Regions from separate parts of the Homo sapiens genome. Here all the other regions are linked to region 1. The links are contacts of gene promoters, found by promoter capture Hi-C in blood cells and fetal thymus (Javierre and others, 2016). All regions are on one chromosome and are shown on one strand. The core of a region is centred on a gene start or on the middle of the fragment in contact, and the rest is flanking DNA. Distances in the headings are between cores, read along the strand shown. Region 1 holds the start of SLC44A3 (solute carrier family 44 member 3). Region 2 holds the start of LOC105378861 (a long non-coding RNA gene). Region 3 overlaps F3 (coagulation factor III, tissue factor).

The links. Contacts are between HindIII fragments. The CHiCAGO score rates a contact against its expected background, and 5 or more counts as called.
Region 2: a contact is called between a fragment that was not itself captured here and the fragment with the promoter of SLC44A3 in region 1, in 1 of 17 cell types (monocytes). The highest score is 5.0, in monocytes.
Region 3: a fragment that was not itself captured here is called in contact with the fragment with the promoter of SLC44A3 in region 1 in 8 of 17 cell types (monocytes, endothelial precursors, M1 macrophages and 5 more); the score reaches 12.8 in monocytes.

The regions. Positions count from the first base shown.
Region 1 is chr1:94,818,694-94,821,769 of GRCh38, reverse strand. SLC44A3 (solute carrier family 44 member 3) reads right to left here and starts at 1,413. Exons shown (of 15, transcript NM_001114106.3): 1 at 1,292-1,413; 2 at 714-821. The coding sequence starts at 1,318. SLC44A3-AS1 (SLC44A3 antisense RNA 1) reads left to right here and starts at 1,538. Exons shown (of 6, transcript NR_160780.1): 1 at 1,538-1,814. RefSeq lists a silencer at 1,220-1,409. The HindIII fragment of the contact is 9,215 bases long and covers 367-3,076 here.
Region 2 is chr1:94,560,281-94,563,214 of GRCh38, reverse strand. LOC105378861 (a long non-coding RNA gene) reads right to left here and starts at 112. Exons shown (of 3, transcript XR_001738160.3): 1 at 1-112. The HindIII fragment of the contact is 2,347 bases long and covers 501-2,847 here.
Region 3 is chr1:94,532,411-94,535,772 of GRCh38, reverse strand. F3 (coagulation factor III, tissue factor) reads left to right here. Exons shown (of 6, transcript NM_001993.5): 4 at 2,505-2,683; 5 at 3,293-3,362. Among named protein-coding and RNA genes, the nearest start is that of F3, 7.7 kb to the left of the region's middle. The HindIII fragment of the contact is 8,136 bases long and covers 1-3,362 here.

The DNA.
Region 1 (3,076 bases), core at 164-2,663:
ATGCAGCAAATAGCATGCCTTATCCTGGCATGGATGATTTCGTGAAAGTGGCCTTTGAAAATGTCGGGTGAGACGTTTTCTGCTGTTACCTACAATTCTAAAATAAGTATAAAAGCAGCAAGATTCGGCTTCCAACAGACTCTCTCAGGATTATAACCGCATAGCCTGATGGAGTTTACCAGCAATCATACATACCTCGAAATTAGAGTGGGAAAAATCATTCCTTGTTAGCTATGGTTAACAGTGTTGGCTGCTAAACACAACATATCTCTCGCGCGCGTGTGTGTGTGATGTTCAGCTAAAGGAAATGCAGTTTATTTCTAGGCTTACCCTGGCTTTTCCTTTGTTAAAGGTGCACCAAAAGCTTGAGGAATATTTGATTTGGGGGTGTGGCAGGTGCTAAAAGAACTTCTGTTCAGTAAGTTCGGAGAGTAAAAGGAGACACATTGGCCTTACTAAATAGCAATCACATTGCAAACTGTTAATTCCCATTTCCTAATGGAGTCACCCCTTAGAACATGGCCTGTAGCAAAAAGACAGCCTTTCTAGCGAGTCTAGGACAAGAATTCTCCCGAGTACAAACTGATGTTTATTGTGGGTTAACGGCAGAAGTCTCTCACTGCAGCACCAACTACGATTTACATTTGGGACAGAGTTATTTCCAGACGTGCACACACACTCTGGCCTCTTTCCTACCAAGCACCCACACTTACCAAACCAGTCCAAAAGAGAAAGAACAGGAATAACCATGCCGTATCTGTGCATTTCCTATAAATCTGGGGTCGCCACTCCCTTTGCCTAGGGGCTCCTTCTGCAGAAACCTTCCAGAAAAAGGGAGAGTTGAGAAAAAGAAGATAAACAGGTGGACTCAACCTGGAAACCGAACCCAAATCTACTCGAAGAGGGGCCAAAGTAACCAATCTTTTTCTAAATTTTTAAAATTAATATTATTTTTTTACGTGGCCACCTGAAGCTCTTTCACACAGCCTTTGAAACACCTGCTCTGCGCGGAGCGGATGTTAAGCCCCCTGCCGCCAAGTGCTTACCTGGAGGTGCACCTGAGGACGACCCCAAGTTTGCGCCCCGCGGCCCGCGTCTCCCCCGCCTCCGCCCCAGCACTGGAGCAGGGTCCAGGTTCCTCCCCGCCAGGTGGCCCCAAGGTACTAAGCGGGGGCGGGATCCCCGAGGCGCGGGAAAGGCGGAAGCGTCCGGCAGGGAAGGTGCGTGAAGGCGGGGGACTCGACCCTTCCCCGGGGCTCCTCCCCCGAGGGCCGAGGCTGCGAGCGCTTACCAGGTACTCGGCGCCCAGGCAGTGCATCGTGCGCTCGCCGGCGGGGGCCGGTGACTGGGAGCCGCCGCCGCCTCCTGTACGCGGAGACGCAGCGCCCGCGAGCCGGGGCCGGGGCCGGGGCTGGGGCTGGGGCTGGGGCTGGAGCCGGGGCCGGGCCGGGGAGGGGCGGGCACGGTGCAGCGCCGCCTCCCGTTCGCCTCTGCGCCTGGCCCGGCGACTGCGGGCGCTGCGGTCCACTGGGTCCGCCTCTTCCCGGCATGGGTTTCTGCCCAGCTCACCCGCTGTCAGCTGGGGTCCTGCTCTGGTGGGAGGAAGAGGCTCAGACGCTTCCCTGCCCTCTCGCCTCAACCACCTCGAGGCAGCGGCTCCCAGGATGTGCACTTTGACGACTAAAGCTGAGCCGGCGCCGCCACGACCTTGGGCGGGTGGTCGGCCTCTGCCCTGAGCAGGAAGTAGAAAGTCTCAGCAGACCCTTCCTGAGGGCCGAGCAACAGTGTAGTGGCGTATTCCACATAGCAAACAGGTAAGCAGCATTTACTGTGTGCTGGATTCTGTTCTCACTGCTATTGTTATTCCTAATCTACGGAGGAGGGAAACTGAGGCACGGCCATTGGTGATGCAACTTGTTCGAGGAGACCCAGTAAGTTGTGGAGGCAGGAGTCGAACCCAGACACTCCGGGAGACCGGCGCTCTCGAGGTGGTTTACTCTGACTTCTCTCCCACCTTGCCTTAGGACAATCATTGCCTGACTTCGCAATTGAAATGGTAGTGTCCACTGAAGCGACTGGTGGCATAGTTTTCCAGGTAGTGTCAGACCAGCGCAAAAGCACTGTTGGGGTGAGGAATTTAAAAAACGAAAAACAAAAAAAACTGCAGGCCGACCTCCCCCCACCTCCTCTCAATCAAGCCTCTACCCTTCCCCCTGCCACCCTTAGGGTTGCTAGGTTAATTGCTTCCTTTAGGTGCTGCTTCTCCCTAAGGGTAGAAACCTGACTGGAGGAAAGATCTGGGTAAGTGGGAGAAACTGGGAATGATAGACAGTGGTTCTCTGGTGCCAGCGATTTCCTTCTGGGCTCACACCACCCTCCCACTGCAAACTCACTGGGCCTTCCTGGATGCATGTTTATCAGACAGAGTAGGTGAAACCCCAGGGGAACATGAATTCATAGGACAAAGAATTAGACACTGGAGGAGTGCAACTACTGTTAAAAGACCACAACTGAATAACATATGCCATCTGAAACTGATCAGTAGAGCAGATGGACCAAGATTTTTAAATAAGCATGATAAATTTATTTAAAATGAGTTATGATATTAGCAATATGAATCAGGAAAAAATATGAAACTAAAACATATTAAGCATAAAAATAATAATTAGAATGAATATTGATGCTACGTATTAGTAATGTGCAATAGTCTAAAAGATGCAGCTGACGATGAATTAGTAATTGGAAGAGCACTTTCAGCAAACCTCCAGAGGCAGTAGAAAATGTTTTAAAAAACAAGTTAGCTTATTTGTAAATTTTCTAGCTTATATCTAGGGTAAAACTAGAACAGAAAGGAAGAAATATAAAAACAGAGAAGGGGAAATATTTGAAGATATAATGGAGATAAATTTCAAGGTAGAAAAAAACCTTCAGATTGAAAAGGTTTATCTCAAGCAAAATGTTTCTATATGTAAGTATTTAAAAGCATAACTTTGAACTTATTTTCTATTAAGCCATATTGTCATTAGAATGTGAGAATGTATTAATAATAAAAATATTCTTATGAAAGATTCATTTG
Region 2 (2,934 bases), core at 425-2,924, 260 kb after region 1:
CGATTGTATTAATTGGTTCATTCTGAAGTGGCTGATCTTCTCAGAAGCAGGACAAACGTAACTCAGAAGCATGAGAGGCATGCAGCCACTGTTGATGGCTGTGCCTGATCTCAGAGGGCCCTGCCGAGAGCAGATGTTTACTTAGCCACTCCTCATGGCTGTGAGCACCCAACCTGGACAGGGAAATTAGTGTGAATTCCAATGCCCAAACACAAATGCCAGGGATCCTCCCTGAGTTTCTGAAGGGAATGTGTGCATACTATTAAAGAGAAGGACAACCGGATAGTCACAAGGAAGGCTGGACTTCCTTAACAGAGATTGTTTATCTAGTTTTAAGCAACTCGAGGTGCTGTAAGCAGGAGCCATGAGCAAAGCAACACGTGTAGGATTAGTTAGAACAGGGATCCCCCACCACTGGGCCATCAACTGATACCAGTCCATGGCCTGTTAGGAACTGGGCTACACAGTAGGAGGAGAGTGGTGGGCGAGCGAACAAAGCTTCTTCTGTGTTTACAGCCACTCCCCTTCAATTGCATTACTGCATGAGCTCCGACTCCTGTCAGATCAGCTGTCACATTAGAATCTCATGGAGTGCAAACTCTGTTGTGAACTGTGCACGTGCAGGATCTAGGTTGCCCGCTCCTTATGAGAGTCTAATGCCTGATGATCTGTCACTGTCTCCCGTCACCCCCAGGTGGGACTGGGGTCCCACTGATGCTACATTATGGTGAGTTGTATAATTATTTCATTATATATTATAATGTAATAATAATAGAAATAAAGTGCACAATAAACCCAATGCACTCGAATCATCCCGAAAAGATCGCCCCACCAACCCCAGTCTGTGGAAAAGTTGTCTCACATGAAACCAGTCCCTGGTGCCAAAAAGGTTGGGAACTGCTGTGTGAGATGACTATCGATTTACAATTCATCAAATAAAACAAAGCATGTCTGATCTGGCCTGCAAAAGGTGAGATAATGGCTGCACTAATAAGAAGTGCAATAAGGGGATCAGGAAGCGAGACACCAAGCAGAGCTGAATGACCTGGATGAATGCATGGCCATTGCGTTTCTGTTCAGGGGAGTATTTACCACTGGGAAAACAGTTGCTTGGTTTGAGAACTAAGCTCAAATAAGGACCTTAGATATAAATCTATTATTGTTGTGGGAACCCATAATACTCAGAAGCATCTCTCACCAAAATTGGATTCATTCCTTTATTCTTTCACTTACCAATATTTGTTGAGCACCTACTGTGTTCCAGATTCTATTGCTGGGTCCCCAGTGCCTCCGAATGAAACAGAGGAAGTCCCTCCTTTCATGGAGCTCACCTTGTGTGGTGTGGGGCTGAGGGAGGTAGAAAATAAACTAGCTAACAAACAAGTGCTATGAAAAGCAATAAAGTGGGTAAGAAGAGGATGAAACTATAGGGTCATGAGAAGGGGCCTTAAGAGAAGCCCTCTTTGAGGGCTATTTTATATAGAGTACTCCAGGAAGGCCTCTCTGAGGAATGACATTGTGCAGGAAGTTCAAGGTAAACCATGGGAAGATGTTGGGGAAAGAGCTCTAGCACAAGGGGAGAAGCGAATGGGGCACGAGTGTGCTTGGCACAGTCAAAGAGCAGCAACAATCCCATGTGGCTGAGATGAGTAAGTGGAGCAAGCGAGGGAGAGAATTGTAGGAAGTGAGACCAACGCTGTAGGCAGGGATCAGACTGTGTGGAGCCTTGTAAGCCATGGTAATGACTGGGATGTAAAGCCACGGAAAAGTTTTGAGCAGAGAAGTGATGGTATCTAACTTCAGCTTTATAGGGATCATCCTAATTGTGTATACAAAATATAGTGGAAGCAGGAATAGCCCAGGAAGGAGACTAGTGTGGCAGATGATTAGCACATTAACATGAGCTTTGCCATCCATACTGAGAACCTCAGGTCAAGTTGAGTTAATGATGAGTTCCTTGCGTTAGAATTCAAAAGTGCAGAAAGTCCGTGGTATACAAAAGGCTTAGGATTACACTCTTCTTTCTATATAGTAGCCACCCACTAGCTACCTGTGGCTACTGAGAACTTGAAGCACAGCTAGTTCTAATTGAGACGCTCTTTAAAAATGATACACTGGGCTGGGCGCGGTGGCTCACGCCTATAATCCCAGCACTTTGGGAGGCCGAGGCGGGTGGATCACGAGGTCAGGAGATCGAGACCATCCTGGCTAACACAGTGAAACCCCGTCTACTAAAAATACAAAACAAAATTAGTCAGGCGTGGTGACAGGCGTCTGTAGTCCCAGCTACTCGGGAGGCTGAGGCGGAAGAATGGCGTGAACTCGGGAGGTGGAGCTCGCAGTGAGCCGAGATCGCGCCACTGCACTCCAGCCTGAGTGACAGAGCAAGACTCCATCTCAAAAAAAAAAAAAAAAAAAAGATACATTGAATTTTGACTTAGTATCCCCTCCACAAAAAAGTAAAAACAAAAACCAGAATGTAAAATATCTCATTAATAATTTTTATACTGATTACATATTGAAATGATAATGCTTGGGATATATTGGGATCAGTAAAACAAGCTCAAAACTCATTTCACCTGTTTCTATTTTTTTAAATATGGCTACTAAAAAATTTAAGTCGCATATGTGGCTCACATATCTCTGTTGGACAGCACTGGTATTCCAAACTGAGTTATACAAAGAAATCCTTTGTTATTTCAAGACTTACTGAAAAAATTTCTAAAATGCATTGCTCATGTCCTGGTTTTAATAAACAAAGTGGTACAAAGCATAGCTAATATAATTGAGTTTCCTTTGATTAATGTAATGTGCTGAAAGTGTGAATGATTCTGCATCACCAAAGCTTTGTTCTAAACATTTCTCAGTGGCCCTGTTGTCTTGAAAATAGTAACAGCGGCTTTTCCATGCTGGCCCTGTCCTTGAAGGAGCCCC
Region 3 (3,362 bases), core at 359-2,858, 290 kb after region 1:
TGACAGTGTCATCAAGTAACTTTCTCCCCCAGTCTGTCCCCAGACCCTGTTACTGTCCTCAGTAACCGGCTGAATGTGTGTTGGGAGAGGGCGGGCCAGGGAAGCGGGTAGGGATAGGAAATCCACCAAGGCCGGGGTTTTAGCTTTTCCCTATATATATATCATGTATCCTGATTTTTCTGTCCCGTTATCACACTAAAAATCCCAGTTGAGGATTTTTCCCAAACGGTCATAAATCAATGAGGAAAGTCCATGGTTTCCCTCTGAGCCCATAATTAGCCTAATTATGCTGACCTTTTCTAATCAGTTGGCCATGATTTGAGTTCCGTGATGTGCCAGCACCTGCCCAGCCATCTGCCTGTCACCCTCGTTCTGGTTTTGGAAAGGTGGAATACTTTCCTCCTCAGCCTTTGCCCCTGTAAGCTGGCCCTAGGAGCCAGTAAAAGAATGAAGAGAATTCCTGTCAAGTAGGAGATTTATTCTTTTGCCGCAACTGTGGCTCTGAGCTAGGCAATTTAGATAAATGCATGTAGCACATTGAGTAGAGTGAAATTAGCTTCTCTTGTAAGGCCAGCTGGTTAGAATGAAGGTGTTGTGTGAGTGTTAGGCCCAGCGAGAGAGAACAGTTTCTCAAGGTAGGAATGGTGAAAAGAAGGGGTGGACGGACAACCAACCAACCATCCTCCTCTGGTATCTACTTTGAGGGTTGAAATAGGGGGCCTGACCCCAGGTGAATGTGGCTGCCTTCCCAGAGCCCCCATTTGCAAGACCCTCCAGACCCCCAGGTGCTTCTGCTTGTGTCTTTTGTGGCACCAGGCAAGAATGTAGCAGCGTCAGCAGCCCCTCTGGTGACTGTGGCATGGTTGACATTCATTTCCCCCCTAATTAATGGCATCCTCATGATTCTCTTTTATATTAATAGTTCTTGAGTTTTTTTGTAAGCTACTTCAAATCCTTTGTTGGTGCAAGATAGAAGATATTTTATGTGTTTGTTTTGCATGTGCACACACATATTTGGCCTGTGAATTGATGTTTGTTTTCCTGTCATTTAACCAAAGCACATGAGATAATTGAGCCATTGCAGAGACCCCGTGGTTAAATCCGGCTTCTCGAGGTACCAAGGACATTTCCTGGGCTTTCTCACAGCCCTACATATTTTTGAACCTAAAATATCGTAGTTTATGCTACCACCCTGTTCAGTATAGTAGCCACTAGCCACATGTGGCTGTTGACCACTTGAAATATGGCTAATGCTCTAAGTATAAAGTACACACTGGAATTTAAGAAGTGTAGAATATCTCAAAACTTTTTTATATTGATTACACATTAAAATGATTATATTCCAGATATATGCAGTTGACTCAAGCAATGCATGGCTGAGAGGCACCGACTCCCTGTGCAGTTGAAAATCCGAGTATAACTTGACTCCCCAAAAACTTAACTACTAATAGCCTACCTATCGGTTGACTGTTGACTGCAGCCTTACCAATAAGATAAACAGTCAATTAACACACATTTTTCATGTTGCGTGTATTATATACTGTATTCTTACAATAAAGTAAGCTAGAGGAAAGAAAATGTTATTAAGAAAATTATAAGGAAAAGAGGCTGGGCATGGTGGCTCGTGCCTGTAATCTCAGAACTTTGGGATGCTAAGGCGGGTGGATCACTTGAGGTCAGGAGTTCAAGACCAGCCTGGCCAACATGGTGAAACCCCATCTCTACTAAAAATACAAAAATTAGCCAGGCGTGGTTGTGGGTGCCTGTAATCCCAGCTACTTGGGAGGCTGAGGCAGGAGAATCACTTCAACCCAGGTGGAGGAGGTTGCAGTGAACTGAGATTGCGCCACTGCACTCCGGCCTGGGTGACAGAGCGAGACTCTGTCTAAAAAAGAAAGGGAAAGAAAGAAAAAAAAGAAAAGAAAAGAAAAGAAAGAAGGAAGGAAGAGAAAGAATTATAAGGAAGAGAAAATATATTTACTATTGATAAAGTGGAAGTGGATCATCATAAAGGTGTTCATCCTCGTCATCTTCATGTTGAGTAGGCTGAGGAGGAGGAGGAGGAGGAAGAGCAGGGGCCACGGCAGGAGAAAAGATGGAGGAAGTAGGAGGCGGCACACTTGGTGTAACTTTTATTTAAAAAAATTTGCATACAAGTGGATCCACAGAGTTCAAACCCATGTTGTTCAGGGGTCAACTGTCTTTGGTTAAATAAAATATATTATTAAAATTAATTTCACCTGTTCCTTTTTACTTTTTCTAATGTGACTACTAGAAAACTTAAAATGACATCTGAGGCTCCATTGTCTTCCCCTTGGGCCAGCACTACCACAGAATGTCTTAGGATTCAGCTCCAGGCCGCCACGCCTGCTTCTTTCAGGGAGCTGGTTCTATGCACATGTTTTATATGAGAGATAATTAAGTTGTCAATTGTGATAACAAAACAGGATTTGACTTTGTACAGAATTCTTTGGTTCCAACCAAGCTCATTTCCTTTGTTTCAGCAAACCTCGGACAGCCAACAATTCAGAGTTTTGAACAGGTGGGAACAAAAGTGAATGTGACCGTAGAAGATGAACGGACTTTAGTCAGAAGGAACAACACTTTCCTAAGCCTCCGGGATGTTTTTGGCAAGGACTTAATTTATACACTTTATTATTGGAAATCTTCAAGTTCAGGAAAGGTGAGCATTTTTTAATTTGTTTTTATGACCTGTTTTAAATTGTGAATACTTGGGTTTTACAACCCATTTCTTCCCCAATTCAAAAATAGCAGAACAGAGTTGTTGAGAAGGTGATGGAGTAGAAGGGGGAGCGCGCACTGTGGGGAGGGGTGGACAACAGGCCTGGTCCTACCTGTGACTCTGCACTACCCTGTGACTCTGGGCAGGGCCCCCTCGGAGACCCAGGTTCCTCAGCCAACCGGCTGGATCAGGTCATCTCTAAAGGTCCCGCCATGCTCACATTTCTCCCTCTATTGAGGATCCCAGGCACAAAATTTGTTTTTGGTTCAATGCATAATACTCCCTTCCTTTTTCTTTTACTGCAGATATCTTCTAAAGGGGCTCAATAGGGTTCAATATGCCTAAATTGGATCTTCTCAGTCTTGGAAAAGGCATTTTTAGCAGTGATCAAGGGAAACTGATTAGCGAAGTCACTTCTAATCCTTCACGTGTCAGCTGTGTTCTTGTAGGCTTTGCTTAGAACCTAGGTTTTTACTTCCACAGTGACTTAATAAAGGGGAAAGAATTGACTCAGAGCCCAGATGAATTAAGAACTCTATCTTTTTACAGAAAACAGCCAAAACAAACACTAATGAGTTTTTGATTGATGTGGATAAAGGAGAAAACTACTGTTTCAGTG